Regions from separate parts of the Homo sapiens genome. Here region 2 is linked to region 1. The links are contacts of gene promoters, found by promoter capture Hi-C in human tissues and cell types (Jung and others, 2019). All regions are on one chromosome and are shown on one strand. Each heading gives the region's core, a stretch centred on a gene start or on the middle of the fragment in contact. The rest is flanking DNA. Distances are from core to core; before and after follow the strand shown. Region 1 holds the start of FGF18 (fibroblast growth factor 18). Region 2 holds the start of SH3PXD2B (SH3 and PX domains 2B).

Evidence for each region. Contacts are between HindIII fragments. The study calls those that stand out against the background at their distance.
Region 2: the fragment with the promoter of SH3PXD2B here is called in contact with the fragment with the promoter of FGF18 in region 1 in 1 of the 25 tissues and cell types used here (IMR-90 fibroblasts).

The regions. Positions count from the first base shown.
Region 1 is chr5:171,414,890-171,422,759 of GRCh38, forward strand. FGF18 (fibroblast growth factor 18) reads left to right here and starts at 4,758. Exons shown (of 5, transcript NM_003862.3): 1 at 4,758-5,342; 2 at 5,518-5,554. The coding sequence starts at 5,311. RefSeq lists silencers at 4,595-4,704, 4,825-4,934, 5,075-5,124, 5,185-5,264. The HindIII fragment of the contact is 5,522 bases long and covers 2,476-7,870 here.
Region 2 is chr5:172,449,390-172,457,259 of GRCh38, forward strand. It overlaps SH3PXD2B (SH3 and PX domains 2B), which reads right to left and starts at 5,136. Exons shown (of 13, transcript NM_001017995.3): 1 at 4,889-5,136. The coding sequence starts at 4,963. RefSeq lists an enhancer at 4,102-4,623. The HindIII fragment of the contact is 19,152 bases long and covers 1-7,870 here.

The DNA.
Region 1 (7,870 bases), core at 3,508-6,007:
ATTTTTAGTAGAGATGGGGTCTCACCATATTGGCCAGGCTGATCTCGAACTCCTGACCTCAGGTGATCTGCCCGCCTCGGCCTTCCAAAGTGCTGGGATTACAGGTGTGAGCCACTGCGCCTGGCCAGCTTTTTTTTTTTTTCTTAACGGATAACATTTTTTTTTTTTTTTTGAGATGGTCTCACTCTGTTGCCCAGGCTGGAGTGCAGTGGTGTGATCTTGGCTCACTGCAACCTCCACCTCCCGGGTTCCAGCGATTCTCCCACCTCAGCCTCCCGAGTAGCTGGGACTACAGGCGCATGCCACCACACTCGGCTAATTTTTGTATTTTTTATAGAGATAGGGTTTCACCATATTGGCCAGGCTGGTCTCAAACTCCTGACGTCAAGTGATCCATTCACCTCAGCTTCCCAAAGGGCTGGGATTACAGGCATGAGCCACCATGACCCGCTGTGTAGCTCTTGGCAGTACTAGCTTAATGAGCAAGGAGAGATGAGCATTGTATAGGGCGTGGGTCTTTTCTTGGAAATTGTCCAAAAAAAAAAAAAAGTTGAGAGTTAACAAGTATATACTGAGCCTATTAAAGGTGGCCTGGACTCTGGAAATACAGGGTTAAAGTTATTTGAGAAAGTCTGAGGCTACTTTCCAGCCAGTTCCTTAATGAAAAGCCAGTTACTCCCTGACTCATGGACTTGGCAGTAGAGGTCCCAAGTTTTAATGCTGTGCGCCTTCTAGGAGCTGGCTTTGAGAAAGCTTAGAGCCTCATTTGTGCTAAGGGTCTACTTTTCTTATTACCTGATAGTGCTGCTTGAGGCTGTTTGTCCTTTTTTTTTTTTTTTTTTTGAGACAGTCTCACTCTGTCCCCTAGGCTGGAGTGCAGTGGCATGATCTCGGCTCAGTGCAACCTCTGCCTCCCGGGTTCAAGCGATTCGCCTGTCTCAGCCTCCTGAGTAGCTGGGATTACAGACACGTGCCACCACACCTGACTAATTTTTGTATTTTTAGTAGAGACAGGGTTTCATTGTGTTGGTTAGGCTTGTCTCGAACTCCTGACCTCGTGATCCGCCCACCTCGGCCTCCCGAAGTGCCGGGATTACAGACTTGAGCCACCGCGCCTGTCCTGTCCTGTGTTCTTAGGCTGGATGTTTTCCATCTTTGTCTCCACAATATTTGTATTCCACAGATTCCCTGAATCTTAGGAGTCTTCTCAGTCAAGACTGGGAAGAAGTGGGAAACAAGTGGAAAGACTGCAGTACTCAGTTTACTTGCACACTTGAACAAAGGGATTTAAATATATACTCTGTTTCAGACGAAAGTTCTAGGTGCGTAGGGTTAGTAGGCAAGGCAGCGAGATGCTCTGCAGGGCTTACATTTCATTGTGTTACTTGTCAACATATATTCTTAACTCCCCTCAGAAAATTGCCTGAGTTTATTAGCTTAGAGCTGGGAATTTAATGCAGGTGTGTCTGATTCCGACCCCCAAAATAGCACATGGCTGCGTAGCCCAAGCTACGGTACCCTTACCTGGACTGGTAACAGCTAGCTTAGCATCCTCCTTACTCCAGCTACTAAGAATGAAGTGGAATGGTGTAACAGCATTCCACTTCATTCTTAGCCAGGGTAAAGCTTTTTTAACAAACTGAATTTTGACTGTTTCAAAGCCCTTAATTGACAAATTGTGGCATATCTATACTATTAAGTACTATCCCACGATGAAAATTGACTACTGCAAAATGCAACAATGGATCAATCTCAAACATGCTCAGCCAGACACAAGCACATAATAGGTGGTTCCATTTATGTGAAATCGAAAATAAACCAGTGCCAGATAAATGATTGCTTGGGACGAGCAATTGGGGGCCGGAAGATTGCCTGAGAAGAGGTGGTGTTTGTACCTAGATACATTTGTCAGAACTGAACTGTACACTTAAAACTGATGCATTGCAAAACTGGTACCCTTAAGCCATTGATGGCTACTTAATTTCCTGTGAAGGCCTGGTCAAGCACATTGCCTGTTTTCACCCTCATCTCTTGCCACACTCTCCCTGGCTAACCCTGCCAGTCGCCTAGCCTTTTTCCACTGGAGGCACTTTGCATCTTTTACCTGGAATATTCCTTTGCATGGCTATCTACTGTCTTTGGGTCTTGGCCTTAATGTTACCAAGAGGTCTTCTGGCTTCTCTATCCCACTGGTTTCTCTCAAAACACTGGTAACAAGCCAGCATTTATCTCTTGGTGTATTTGCTTATTGCCCATCTTCCCTAGTGGAAACGAAGTGCTTTTTTAGTGCAGGGACCTTGCCTGTCTTTCAGTGAGGGCTCGACACTGTAGGATCTCAATAAATTGTGATTGAATTAGTAAGAAGTGACTACTAAAATAGTGGTATATATTAAGTGTTGTATGAACATGCCAAATCCAGATAGAACCCATTTAAGATTCAGGCATATGGTAAATAGGTCATGTTGGTAAATAGGTGCATGAAACTAGAGGGTGTGAGTGGTGGGGAAAAGAATGTGTAGTATAAAATGGATTTGGAGTCAAAAGACATTCTGACTAGATGCCTCTTCAACTGTAAATTGGAAATGATCCTGCCTCCCTACTTCATGAAATTGTTCAGAAAGAAATGTGAAAATAACCTGAAAGTAACCTGAATAATAATTAGGATTATTAGTTAGCAGCTAAAACGTTTGGAGTTTTCATTGTGTGCCAGACACTCATTGAGTACTCACAACTCTGTGAGAGTTGTTACTGTTCTTAGCCATATTTTGTAGAGGAGGAAGCAGAATCTCAAACCGTTGCTTGCTGGAATTTATAAGTAAATGTTGGTGGCAGTATTCAAATGCAGTACTTCTGACTCCTGAGTTTATGCTCTTACTCAGAACTGTTCTCTTGGCTGGACTTTTTGGTCAGTCTGATTTGTTTGGTAGGTGAGATTGGCAAATATACTTTGAGCATTGAAAAATACTGCAAGCATTTTAGATAGGGTATAAATAATTATATACCCATTCCATTCACAAGTAATAAAAAATAGTAACAATATAGAAAATTGGAAGCATGATTCTTAGCCAGGAGATACTTCAAACTAGCAGATGGTAAGCCAAAAACTCCTCGACTGGGTTTGTCAATCTTCCTATAAAGCAAGATCAAAGACGGCGGCAATGACTCGGGTCATCGGTGGGAGCATTTCTGTCCATTTCTATTTATGGTTGGTCATTGCATCCTATCTTGGGATCGATTCATTTTCTCCAGAACTTGGGAAGTTACGAGTAACTCTGCAAGTCCAGCTCTGGCAATCAGAATGTCTAAGTAAATTCAGCTTAAAAGCTTCATGCAGGAATTTTCCCCCTCAGCACCTGGTTTTGAAAAGGTTTTCTGCACTTGTGTCCGATGTTGAAACAGAGGCTATCTGTTTAAAATAGCCTCAGCTTTGAAAGGGAACTTAAAATAGCTTGCAAGGAGGCCTGATATTTGGAACAATTACTAATGTTTTATAGTCATGGCTTCAGCAAATAGCACTGTTCGACAGTCCTACCTCAGTTTATGCTCCAGTGGACCATCAACCATTGCCAACGCAAGGAGGCTTTAACCAAATAGTCCAGATTCCTGAGTTTTGCTTGAGCCTGTCCTCCAGCGTCTTTCTCACTGTGACCTATTTTCCTTAGCATCAGGCTCAAGCAGAGCTTGGCTGACACCAGCTCTAGACAGTGAGGCAGGTACGTGACAAGAACACCTACGTTTTGGGGTTGGTGGGAAGGACAGGAGTTATGCCTCTGGAAGGGGCAGAGGCGGTAAGAACCAGTGTCCTGAATGGGGCCCTGGTTAAAGGAACGAAGCTGCCTAGTATGCAAACGGAGGCAAGTCTTAGTCCGGTTTTGGGAGGAGGCCGGAAGAGGGCCTCAGCGTGGTCGCTGACCAGAGTCCTGCTGGCTGCTCCCCGGCGTGCAGCCGTCCGTGCTGGGGTTGCAGTGACGTCTCGGGGCCGCTTGGTGGTAGCCGTGTGTTTCCAAAGCTGGCTCGCCTACGGGAGAGTCCAGCTGGGATCCCGTGAACCGACCCCAGAGCCCCGGAGGGGGCGAGGGGTGGGAAGGAGAGATGCCCGGGAGCCCCCTTCGCAGCGGCAGGGACGTAAGAAGAGGACGGGGGCTCACTTAAGTGGGTAGCCAGTCAAGAGGGTGGCTGGGAAACTCCACGATCGCAGGGCGGGTAAAAGCGACCCCCATTCAGTGGAGCCGCCCCGGGGCTGGGTTTGACCCGCCCCTCTCGGCTCTCCACTAGAGCGCTGGTGAGTGAGTGCGAGTAGCGAATGTGGGCAGGTGAGGACGTTCCGTACCTAACTGCGTTCTTGGGGAGCATCGCCTGCCCAATTTGGGCAACGTTTGCGCGGAGGAGCGGTCACTGCGCTCGGGCGCAGAGCTCCGACGGCTTCCAGCGCTCACCAGCTTCAGTCTCGCGGGTCCTGCCCCTTTGGAGCTGCCGGTCCCGTCTCCGAGAGTCTGAGCGCCTCCCCTCCAACCCCGAGCCGCCAGGAGAAGGAGGAGGAGGCAGCGAGAGGCCGCGGCAGGCAGGCGAGCAGGCAGGGCCGCCTTTGATGTGGGCTGGGCGCACCCAGGCGAGCTGAGCGCCCGTCCGGCCGCGCCCCGAGGGGGGAGCCCCCAGGCCCCGCATCCTCATTGTGCCGGCTCGGGCCCGGGCCCGCCCCCGGCCCCCCGCCCCCTCGCCGCCCGCGCGTAGAAAACGCCCCGGCCGCCGCCAGTGGTGGGAGGCGGCGATGCGCACGGCCGGAGAGACGCGGAGGAGGAGACATGAGCCGGCGGGCGCCCAGACGGAGCGGCCGTGACGCTTTCGCGCTGCAGCCGCGCGCCCCGACCCCGGAGCGCTGACCCCTGGCCCCACGCAGCTCCGCGCCCGGGCCGGAGAGCGCAACTCGGCTTCCAGACCCGCCGCGCATGCTGTCCCCGGACTGAGCCGGGCAGCCAGCCTCCCACGGACGCCCGGACGGCCGGCCGGCCAGCAGTGAGCGAGCTTCCCCGCACCGGCCAGGCGCCTCCTGCACAGCGGCTGCCGCCCCGCAGCCCCTGCGCCAGCCCGGAGGGCGCAGCGCTCGGGAGGAGCCGCGCGGGGCGCTGATGCCGCAGGGCGCGCCGCGGAGCGCCCCGGAGCAGCAGAGTCTGCAGCAGCAGCAGCCGGCGAGGAGGGAGCAGCAGCAGCGGCGGCGGCGGCGGCGGCGGCGGCGGAGGCGCCCGGTCCCGGCCGCGCGGAGCGGACATGTGCAGGCTGGGCTAGGAGCCGCCGCCTCCCTCCCGCCCAGCGATGTATTCAGCGCCCTCCGCCTGCACTTGCCTGTAAGCGCCCGCGCGCGGGGCTGCCCACCTTGCCTGGCTGTCTGTCCGTATGCCTGTGCCCTGTACCTCTGTCTGCCCGCCCGTCGGTTCACCTGACTCTTCGACTGCGTGTCTGTCTGTCCGTGCGCCCCCTTCCTCAGGTCCCACTGACCGCTTCTCCATCTGTTTCCCGCAGGTGTTTACACTTCCTGCTGCTGTGCTTCCAGGTACAGGTACGTGGGCTCCTGACTTTGACCTCCTCCCGCCCCTGCCTCGCGGTACACGCCGACCCCCCTTCCCCGGCCGCGCCCCCTCCCTGTGCCCCACCCCTCCTGGGCGCTGAGCCCAGTGCACCTGTTCCCAGGGCGCGGAAGGGCGGCTCCGCGTGCGCCCTGCGCCGGCGGGGAACCGGCCAAGGGCAAGGGGCTCTGCCGCGGGGCCCGAGGAGGCGCTGGCTGTCGCGGCCACTGTCGGCCTCGGCTGGGAGGAGATCCCGCAGAGCCGGCGGGCTCAGCCGCAACAATATACCCAGCTCTAAGACCCCTGCCCGCAGCCAGCGAGGGGTAGGACCTAGGGATTTTCTCTGCCAACCTTCCCTTAACATCGCCGCTTCCAAACAAAAAGACTTTCAGCCGAGTGGATTTCGAGTCCAGGGAGAAAGCTTCAGTTGTAAATTACTCTGTGGTTTTGAAGGCGCTTGCAGCACTGAGACACACACACAGACACACACACATGCCCGGGACGAGGGGAAGCTCGAGGGCGCCTAGGCCGAGTGGCCGCTGCCCGCGAGGCCGCTCCCGGATGGGCCGCGCTCCGCACTCCCTCGCCTAAGGTGGTGCAGCCCTCGTTGGTTCCCCGCCTGCTCCCGGTTCGCTCGCTCTCCGTGAATCAGAAGAGGGCTTGGCGCTCGGCCTGGAAAGCACTTGCTAAAATCTGATCTGTTACTTCAGCAGCTTTCAGACTCGGGAAGGTCTTGGCACGCAGACAGTTGGAACGCTCTGGCTTCCAAAGCCGTAGAAATGAAGGAAAAAGGGTTGGGGGGAGGGAGAGAGAAGAGCGAAAAAGGGAGCCGACTTCAGCCCCGATTAGAACCAGACCAGGGCTGCCTCTGCATGGTGGGGGTCGGGGGGCGGCGGGCAAAGGGAATAGGAAGCGTCAGCTCCCCAAGCCCCCACCCACCTAGTGCTGCAAGGGGCCAGGCCAGGAGGAACTGGACACAGGTCAAAAGAGGGTTGTCTGACCCTTCCCCCTCGGTGGAAGGCAGGTGGCTTTCCGGGATTAGAGAAGATTCTTAGACCTTAGCCTTCTGGATTGTGGAGATCCCCAGAGCTAGCCTTGAGCACAGGAAATTGGTGGTTCTCCCGGTTTTCTGGCTCAAGGAGTGTTGTGTGCCTTGAGCACTGCGCGACTCAACAGCCACTCGCAGTGTTTGGCGGTGGTGGGCCTGCTATCTTCCTTCCACGCCCAGGAGAGGGTTGTTACCCTCCTGATAGGCACTGAGCTGGGGGCATCCATTGGGGCTTGGGGATGGAAGGGTGGACGGACTGATGGGTTCTTTCCTCCTGTTGGCCAGGCTGGGGTCCCCAGTGACTCCTTGAATCAATATAACTGGAGTCAGTAACTTAAGACTGGCTGTTTGCCAAAGCAGATGTGACCTGTGTGGTGATGGGGGTGGGGGTGGGGAACGGCTGGTGTCAAAGAGGGAGGCCAGTGCCAGGCATGGCCTGCCTGGTCTGCAGCTGAGTCCCCAAGCAGAGGGCAGGCCCTGGGGTCACTCCAGGGGGTCTGCTTGTCTGACCTGGGCAAGAGCTCTTTTCCAGAGTGCTGTGCCTGGGGGCAGGAGGGATGAAATGGGCAAGGAGTAGCAGGGAGGCCTGCGGATGTGTGGCTCAAGCCTCTGGATGCCTGCTGCTGTTGGTTCTTCTTGAAGTAGGGCCCAGGAGGGGCTGCTGTGTGGTCTTTGTGTTCTCCGTGGGAGCTGGAGGGAGGGAGTGTGGACTCTGCATCCCACCTCCACCTCCTGGCCAGAGCTAGAGCCAGCATCTTGGGAAAGAGCTGGGTGGTCTGCCCTGGTTAGGTCAAGAGGCAGCCTTCAAGCAGGTGAGGGATCCTCCTCTCCCCACCACCTCCACCTTCCCCCTTGTCCCCACCGGCCTTTCTGCATCCAAAGTGCCATAAGACTGATGTTTTTAACCCATGGTCCATGTACCCTTGGAGTGTCAAAGGATGGGATTGTGGGAGGGGGAGGTCCCTGAAACACTGCACAAAAATGGTGCTCAAATGTGCTGTGTCTGGAAGAGGGTTGCCTGCTCCCCACAGAGTTTCAAAACATCTATGACCCCTAAAGATAAAGAAATGTTATCCTGGGAGTTATGGGCAAGGTTGTCAGGCTTATGTCCCCATTCACACTACAGGGGCAAAGGTGGGGTGGCCTTAATGGTTGAAATGAGGGGTAGGAGCCAAATGATGTTAACTGCCAGGAATCTGGGGCCTGCTCCCTGCTGAGGTTTGGGTAGGCTGCACTTAGCGGGTAGCAGTTCAAGCTCCTT
Region 2 (7,870 bases), core at 3,886-6,385, 1.0 Mb after region 1:
CAATTCCCACGCAGCCACTCCTTGCTGTGTGACCTCAGGCACATGCCTCCACCTCTCTGAATCTGCAGACTCCTCCAGGGGAAAACAAAAAACTAATGTAATTACCTGAAGGATTAGTATCCCAAATGTATAAATAAATCCCGCCAATCAATAAAAGACAAATAACCCAATATATCGAAAAACAGGCAAAGGACAAAAACTGGTAATTCACGGAAGAGGAAACTCAGATAGCCGATAAAGGTATGAAAAGCTGCTCAACCTCACTGGTGTGAACAAGCACCACTTTTGCACCTATTGGATTGGCAAAGACTGAAAAGTCTGATGATACGGAGTGTTAGCAAGAACAGAGAGCAAAGGGAACCCTGAGGATGTAAGTGCAAAGTTGAAAACACACAAACCCCAAGACCGTGGGACCCTGTGCAAGGAGGCAGCTGTAAGAAAGTCAACTGCTGGAAACATCCTAACAGTTCCCGGCACGAGCTTGAAAAAACAGGGGCATGTTCATCAATGCCATAGTAAGCGACAGTTAAAACGAACTGGAGCTAGCTGGATCGACATAGATCTCAAAAGTGCTTATTTATAGTTTTAAAACATTCACGACAATACAAGATTTTAGGGAATGTTAAAAAGGGAAAAACATTAAAAGGTCCATGGGCTGTGGTGGGAAGGGGATTGATGGCAAATGGGCGTGGGGGATCTTTCTGGGGATGATGGAAATGTTATAATACTGCATTGTGGTGACGGTTGCATAGCTCTGCAAATTTACTTTAAAAATAAGTGAATTGCACACTTACAATGGGTGAATTTTATGGTATGTAAATTATACCTCAAGAAAGCTGTTAAAAAAAATCCTATCTATTAGTCTATTTTTTATAAGTGCATGGGAATGATCAACATCAAATGCAGGATAGTGGTTTTATGGGGGAGGGGCAGCATCGGGGAGGGCGTCCGGGGGGTTTGCATCTGCGATGCTTTATTTCTTAAAAATAAAAACAAAAAAGTTTTGAAACAAATTGGCAAAATATAGAGATGTGAAGACTTGGAAGGTATATAGATATAGATAGCTATTTTATTCTATGTATCTATATATGTGCAGAATATTGTATTACTATATTGAAAATATACCCATTTGAAAGGGACCCAGTGCCCCGCTCAGGTTACCGAGGACACTTTGACCACTGTTATTCTTGCTGCCATAAATATTCCGACCATCCTGCTCCTCTTAACATTTAAAGATCTTGAGACAGAGCAGGCCAGCATCTCCAGGCTCCTGCTGCCGAGACACTAATGCTTCTGTACATCCCTCTCCAGTGCGGGAAATGGGGTGATCCAAATAAAACCCACAAATCCTACCTGGAGCTCTTCTTCCTCCCCCCAAGCTGAAGACAAGCTAGCTGGGGAGGGTCTCCCAGGATGTCACCCTCAAAAGCCCCTCTCCATTCATCCCCAAGCCCTCGGGCTCTAGTGCAGGAAAGATGCTGGCAGAGAAAGGCAGGAGCTCCCCAAATCTTCATCTCCCTGCTTCCAACAGAGGGCAGTGGCTCCAGGGAAAGGCTCTCCAAACAATATCATGGTTCATTGTCATCAGCCTCTCAGGATCTCACAGGCACCTGGAGCTTCTGGCCCTGCATTCTCCAGACCTGGCCTGTGGCTCTGCCCCTGGGCCCATGGATGATGTCTCTGCCTGCGGGTGACTGAGGCTGGGGCTGGAGAGGACGCCATTCTGATCATGGAGAAGGCACCATTTCAGAGGGAGCAGGTGGCCCAGCCCTGATGGGCAGCCCTGAACTCCGGGTGCAGTTCTCCAATGACATCTACAGCACCTGTGACCCTGTCCCTCACAGGCAAGTGAGTGATGAGCAGGTAGTGGCCGAGATGGCTGCAAATGGGGAGAGGGGTAGTGGGAAATTAGGGGGCGTAGTGAAGAGGACTCTCAAAAACTGACTTTATAGTCTATGGCGCAGTGGCTGGGGTGGGAATGTGTGTGGTGCTGCCCCCTAGAGGACATGCAGCAATCAATGCCTGGAGGCCTTTTGGGTGTCACAATTGGGAAGGGGGATAACTAGCTGGGTAGAAGCCAGGGAAGCTGCTAAACATCCTGCAATCCACAGGACAGCCCTGAAACAAAGAATGATCCAGCCCCAAATGTCAAAAGTGTTGAGTTTGAGAAACTCTGCCCTTGAGGGATGTAGCAGTATTTACACAGAAGCTAGAGCTCAGAGAGGCAAACCAACCAGTCCGAGGTCACACAGCAGAAAAGTTCAACTCCCCAGCTGATGCTGTCTCTCCAGGGTGGCTTCAGAAAAAGGGATACCAAATGGGAGTCAAAGTCCAGGCCTGCCAATAGCTGCCTTCATGCCCGCTCTTTCCAGATTGTGTGAGGGGTTGGGGTGGAGCTTGGGAACAGCAGCGGTCGCCCACCACAGGGATCTGTTTCCATTGGGTTTGGCCCCCCTGCCATCAAGGCAGTAAATGTTCTCTGTTCCTGTGGATGACTCAGGCTTCAGTTCAGCCCATTGCCCCTCCTCATCTGATGAACCCAGAAGCCTGGGCTAGAAGGGAGAGGGCCTCTTGAATCACATGAGTGACTAAAGCCACATGCAGAAAAACAAGTTCTTGATGAATCCCCCTACCATGTGACTTTGGCATGTTCCCAATCAGTGACAAGATACCTCAGGACAGGCAGGCAGGGAGCTATGCCTTTAGGGCATTTAGGAATGCCCTAAGGCAGCCTGTCATGCGGCTGCTACCTCTAGGAAATGGACACCACCATCCCCATTACACAGATGAAAAAACTGAGGCTGAGGTGACACAGCTACAACCTGGGAGGCCAAGATCTGAATCCCAATCTATGTTTTAACATAGAAACTTGTCTCAGGGGGCCCCCAAAAAGTGGCTGAAAGCTTCAAAAGACGGTTCTCAAAGCGCAAAACCTTCAAAAAACTGGCAAGGATGGAGCTGACACAGCAGAGAATGAAAAGCTTCCAGGTTTTCACTAATGATAAGAGAGATTTCCCAGTTTTTCAGAGGACTTTGCTCAGAGAAACTATAGGGGTACCGGATGTGGGAAGTGGTGTGGTCCTTTTGGGGTCCAGCGGGCCTGGATCTACATCCCTGCTTGGCTCTTGACTGTGACCTTAGGCGTGGGACCTCACTTTGCTGAGCCCTGGTTTCCTCATCTGTCAAATGGGCTTAAGGCCCTCTGCCTGATATGGGCGTGATAGGAGAGGCCAGAAGAGGGCGCGTGGACGATGATGGCCGGGCCTCGGTGGCAGTATCTATTCTCGTTTTTGCCAGCTCACAGACCTGGTGGGAGGTGGCATGGAGAATTCCAGACTTCCTCCAGTTGCCATGTTGGTGAAAACTGTCTTCATGCCAAAGAGGCAAACTCACTTACACGCTAACAGGCTCAAACAAGAAACTAAGATTTGGCAGCATTTGAAAACAGTTAACAAAAAATAAAAAAAGGAAGGAAAAAAAAAAGACAATTTAGCTCAGCTCTGGAATCAAGGGAAACTTCACTCTATATAAAGATGCCACAGGTCCAGGAAATAGCTTCCCACCGCCTGGCTAAGGGCTGAATAACTGGCTGCCCAGCCAATAACAATACAGACTCACACAGCACACCCTTTCTTGTGGAGAGCGCGGAGTGGGTTCCCGGCTATCTCCTTTCAGAATTTCACAGGCTATTCACGGAAGGCATGCAGATCTACTTTGTAAGAATTAGTTCTTAAAAAAAAAAGATCTGAAGACGACTTCCAGGGAGGCCAAGGAGCTTAATTTAGCCAGCCAACGCCCTTTTCTATTCATTGTTCTATACTTCTTTGTTAGGATTTTTTCCCTCCCTCTTACTCTTTTTCCCTTCCTGGTTAACTTCTCTGCAGCCAGGCTCCGCCACTGCCCACTTCTCACCGCCAGAGACACTATAGCCCCCTTCCCTGCTGTAATGAGGCCCTCCCCAAGGCCTCATGTGGGCCCATCACCCCACATCCCCTTTATCTCCACCTAGAACCTGCGAGGTGGTCCCAGGGCCTCCTGAATCTGCAGACGTGTCCCCTAGGTTGCTGCGGAAGCCACTTTCCACCTGCAGGTCACCGTCAGCCCCAGGCACCCCTGCTGGAGGGAGGGAAGCCCGAATGCAGCTCTATGTTCCAGGACCTGCAACCTCTGAGCCTCAGCCTTCCTATCTGCAAAACGACGCTACTGTCCCATTTTCTCAAGTCCTTGCCAGCTCCAAACAAGATTCCCATGTTCCAGAGGGAGATGCCAGGAGAAAACTTTCGTACATTTTAAAACAGAAGTTACTGGAGAGAGGGGGCAGGGGATGTTTTTAACCCTTTAAAGGCGTAGCCACTCAAATGATCCATTCCCAGAGATCTCCTCCATCGCCCAGGCCGGCTCTTGCCAAAGAACGGAGTCAAATTCGGCGAACCCTAGAGGGGCTACCTGTGGCTGGGGACTGCGGGTCTGCGCGCCTCTGGACAAGGAGGGGCAAGGCGGGCGGCCTGAGAACAGGCACTTCTGTCTCTCCCGCTTTCTGTCTCAGACCCCTCACCGGCTGGAGCCAGACTTTTCCACAGATGAGCAGGACGGGAGTTGGGGGGACACGGAGAAGACAGAAAGGGGTAGAGGAGCCGCAGGGAGGCGAGTAGGGGGGCGAGGCGGGAGGAAGGGATGGAGGGGGAGAACGAGGCAAAAGCGGGGAGGGGAGGGGAGGGAGGGAGGAGGAGTCGGGAGGGACCCGGGCAGCGCCGCCGCAGAGCCGAGGGGAGAGCAGGGGAGGAGGGGACGGGAAGCGCTGGAGGCAGAAGTTTTCCAAGCCGGGGGCCCTCGGTCGCCCCCGACGGGGCGCGGGCTCAAGGGGGCGTGGGGGCCGCGCCGCACTCACATAATGCTTGTTGGGCACCCGCCGCTTCTGCACGTCTAGCACCTTCACCTCCACGATGCTGCGCCGCGGCGGCATGGCCGCTCCTCCGCCCGCAGCGGGCCGAGCGCGGGTGCGGGTGGCGCGGGGTGCAGGGAGCGCTGGGGGCGCGCCGCCGCGGGCAGGGAACCTGGAGCTGAGCGCAATCGCAGCCGGGGCCGAGCACGAGCCGCCGCCGCCACCGCCGCCGCCCTTCGCTCGGCGCGCACTCCAGCCGGGCCCAGCCGCCGCCGCCCGCCCCCGGCCCGCCCCCCGCACCGCCCCCCGCACCGCCCCCCGCACCGCCCCCCGCGCCGCCGGCCCGCCCCCCTTAAAGGGCCCGGCCCCGACCCCCGCCCACCGCGCGCGAACCCCGCCGGCCACGTCCGGCCCCCGCCCGGCCTTTGTCCCGGTGCTGAGCCGCCGCGCCGGGGGAGGGGACTGGACTGACCCCGTCGCCCGTTCACTGATTGACGTATCGATTCATTCCAGCACTCTCGCTCCGGCAGCCGCCATCCACCGCCAGTTTGGAGAGCCGGACACCCGGGTTCGAATCCCGGCTTTGCCGCTTTTCCACTCTGTGCCCTCGGCAAGTTGCTTAACCTCTCTGGGTTGGGTCTCTTCGTCTATAATATGAGCCTAGTAGTACAAGCACCATGTTTGTCTTTTTGTGTCTGGCTTATTTCACTCGGCATAATGTCCTCAAGGCTCATCCATGTTGTAGCACGTGTCAGTAGTACCGCCTGCCTGCCGGTGCTGCGCCCGGGATTAAGTGCATGTGAAGCCATTCCGCAGTGCAGTCCATGGTATGAGTGCTGGCGTTCCTAAAGCCACCCCAAGCCCTGGTGATTCAGGAGGAGCAAGAGACCCGTGACCAGGTTCCCCCAGCCTCAGTCTGGGACATGGGGAGTGAGGGAGAGAAAAACTGCAACAAATGCGCATACGTGCAATGTAATTGCCATGGAAGCAACAAAAGGGGATAAAAGGGTGGTGACTATGTGTGAGGGGCAGCTGGGTGCTTGTTAGCAAGGCCATCGATTTCCAGTTGCGGAGCACTTAACTGCTCGCTGGGCCCCGTGGCCCCTGCTTTTCACAAATGCTGTCTTTGCATCCTCAGGCAGACTCTAGGAGGAAAAGGTGTTTTTACAGAGGACGGCCTCCAGACATTTGGACATTTCCAATGAGGCCTGAGGACCCTCTGACTTGGGAACTGTACTTCAGAAGAATGTGCCTTACAGGAATTACATCAGTGAAGGTCCAGAGTCAGGGAGCCGGTGGATGGAGCCCGTCACTGCCTGGCTCTAGGTGGATCTCACACGTTGAAGCTGCCGTGGCTGGGGCAGCTCCTCGTTTCTTCATCTAGTGCCTCCTAGCACTGGCTGGGCACTGAGTCACTTTCAGGAGATGTTGGCTGAATGAATGGATAAATGAATATATAATGCATGGATGGGAGGTTTAGGCTCCTGGCCAGTGTTTTCACAGCCAGTAAGTGGGGGCTCTTTTCAACAAACCGTACGACTCTTCTCCATGCCACGACAGAGCTACTTCCCACCCCGGTCCAGGATCAGCCTTTGGAAAAGGGTGGGCTTATCCAGGGTAGGACGGCTCTCAGCCTCGGCCAGGCCACGTGGATGATTTGGGCTGATTCACTTTGGATCCGCCCCTCCATTTGCTCCTCTGACTTCCTTGCCAGACTTTACCATCCTGCTCCAGCCCCAGAGGCTGGCCTGTGTGGATTTCACTGACAGCTCTCTGTCCTGGTCTTCCTGTTTGGCTTGGCCAGTGGAAGGGCCTGGCAGGAGATTGAGGGCAAGAGGAGAGAGGGAGGTCTGGGTATTTAATCCCTAAGCCCCTCCTCCCCGATTGTTTTTACCAAAGGTGCCCTTTCTCACATGGTCTCTCTCAGGGTTCCTGAAGCCACTTTTCTGCTCAGGACAGTGACAGTCTTGCTGTTGCAAGCCCTGGGTACTACGCCATCCTCGGTGCTTCCTTAGCCCCGCCCACACCCGTATACATTGACCCTTTACTAAACTGTCTTCATGGACCCAGCTTGAGGGTGGCATCTGTTCGGTGCCAGGACCCTCACTCATGTAATTCCTGTAAGGCACATTCTTCTGAAGTACAGTCCCAAGCCAGAGGGTCCTGAGGCCTCATTGGAAATGTCCAAAGAAGTGAAGGTCTGCTTTTCCGTCCCTGCCACATCGTGCATTGCCTTATTAGGAGCCAAGCCTTCCTAAGAAGGCAGAAGCTAGAGGCCCTCTCTGAATCAGCCAGCTTCCTGGGTTTTTCCGGAGAGGCAGAGAGACCTGCCCCCAGCCACACCATGGGTGGCAGAGGTGGGTCCTGCTGGCTGTGTCCGTCTCCTCTGTCTGGGGAAGACAAAGGTCCCCCCACAACCACCAGTAGCAGAAGATGCTATCCCTGCATCTTTACGTATCTTTCCTTTGTTTTACTTTTTTATTGTAGTAAAAAATACATAACATAAAATTTAACATTTCAACCATGTTTAAAGCATACAGTTGAGTGGCATTAAGTACACTCACATTGTTGTGCAACTGTCACCACCATCCCTCTCCAGAACTTTCTCATCTTCCTAAACTGGAGCTCTGTCCCTATTAAACACTGAGTCCCCCCCCACTGCCCCCCAACCTCCTCCAGGCCTTGGCAACCATTGTTCTACTTTCCATCTCTATGAGTTTGACTATGCTAGGTACTTCATATGAGTGGAAACACACAATGTTTGTCTTTTTGTGTCTGGCTTATTTCACTCGGCATAATGTCCTCAAAGCTCATCCATGTTGTAGCATGTGTCAGAATTTCCTTTTTATGGCTGAATAATATTCCATTATATGTATATAGCACTTTTTCTTTATCCATTCATCTGTCAACAGTCACTTGGGTTGTTTTCATCTTTTGGCTATTCTGAATAATGCTGCTGTGAACATTGGTATAAAAATATCTGTTCAA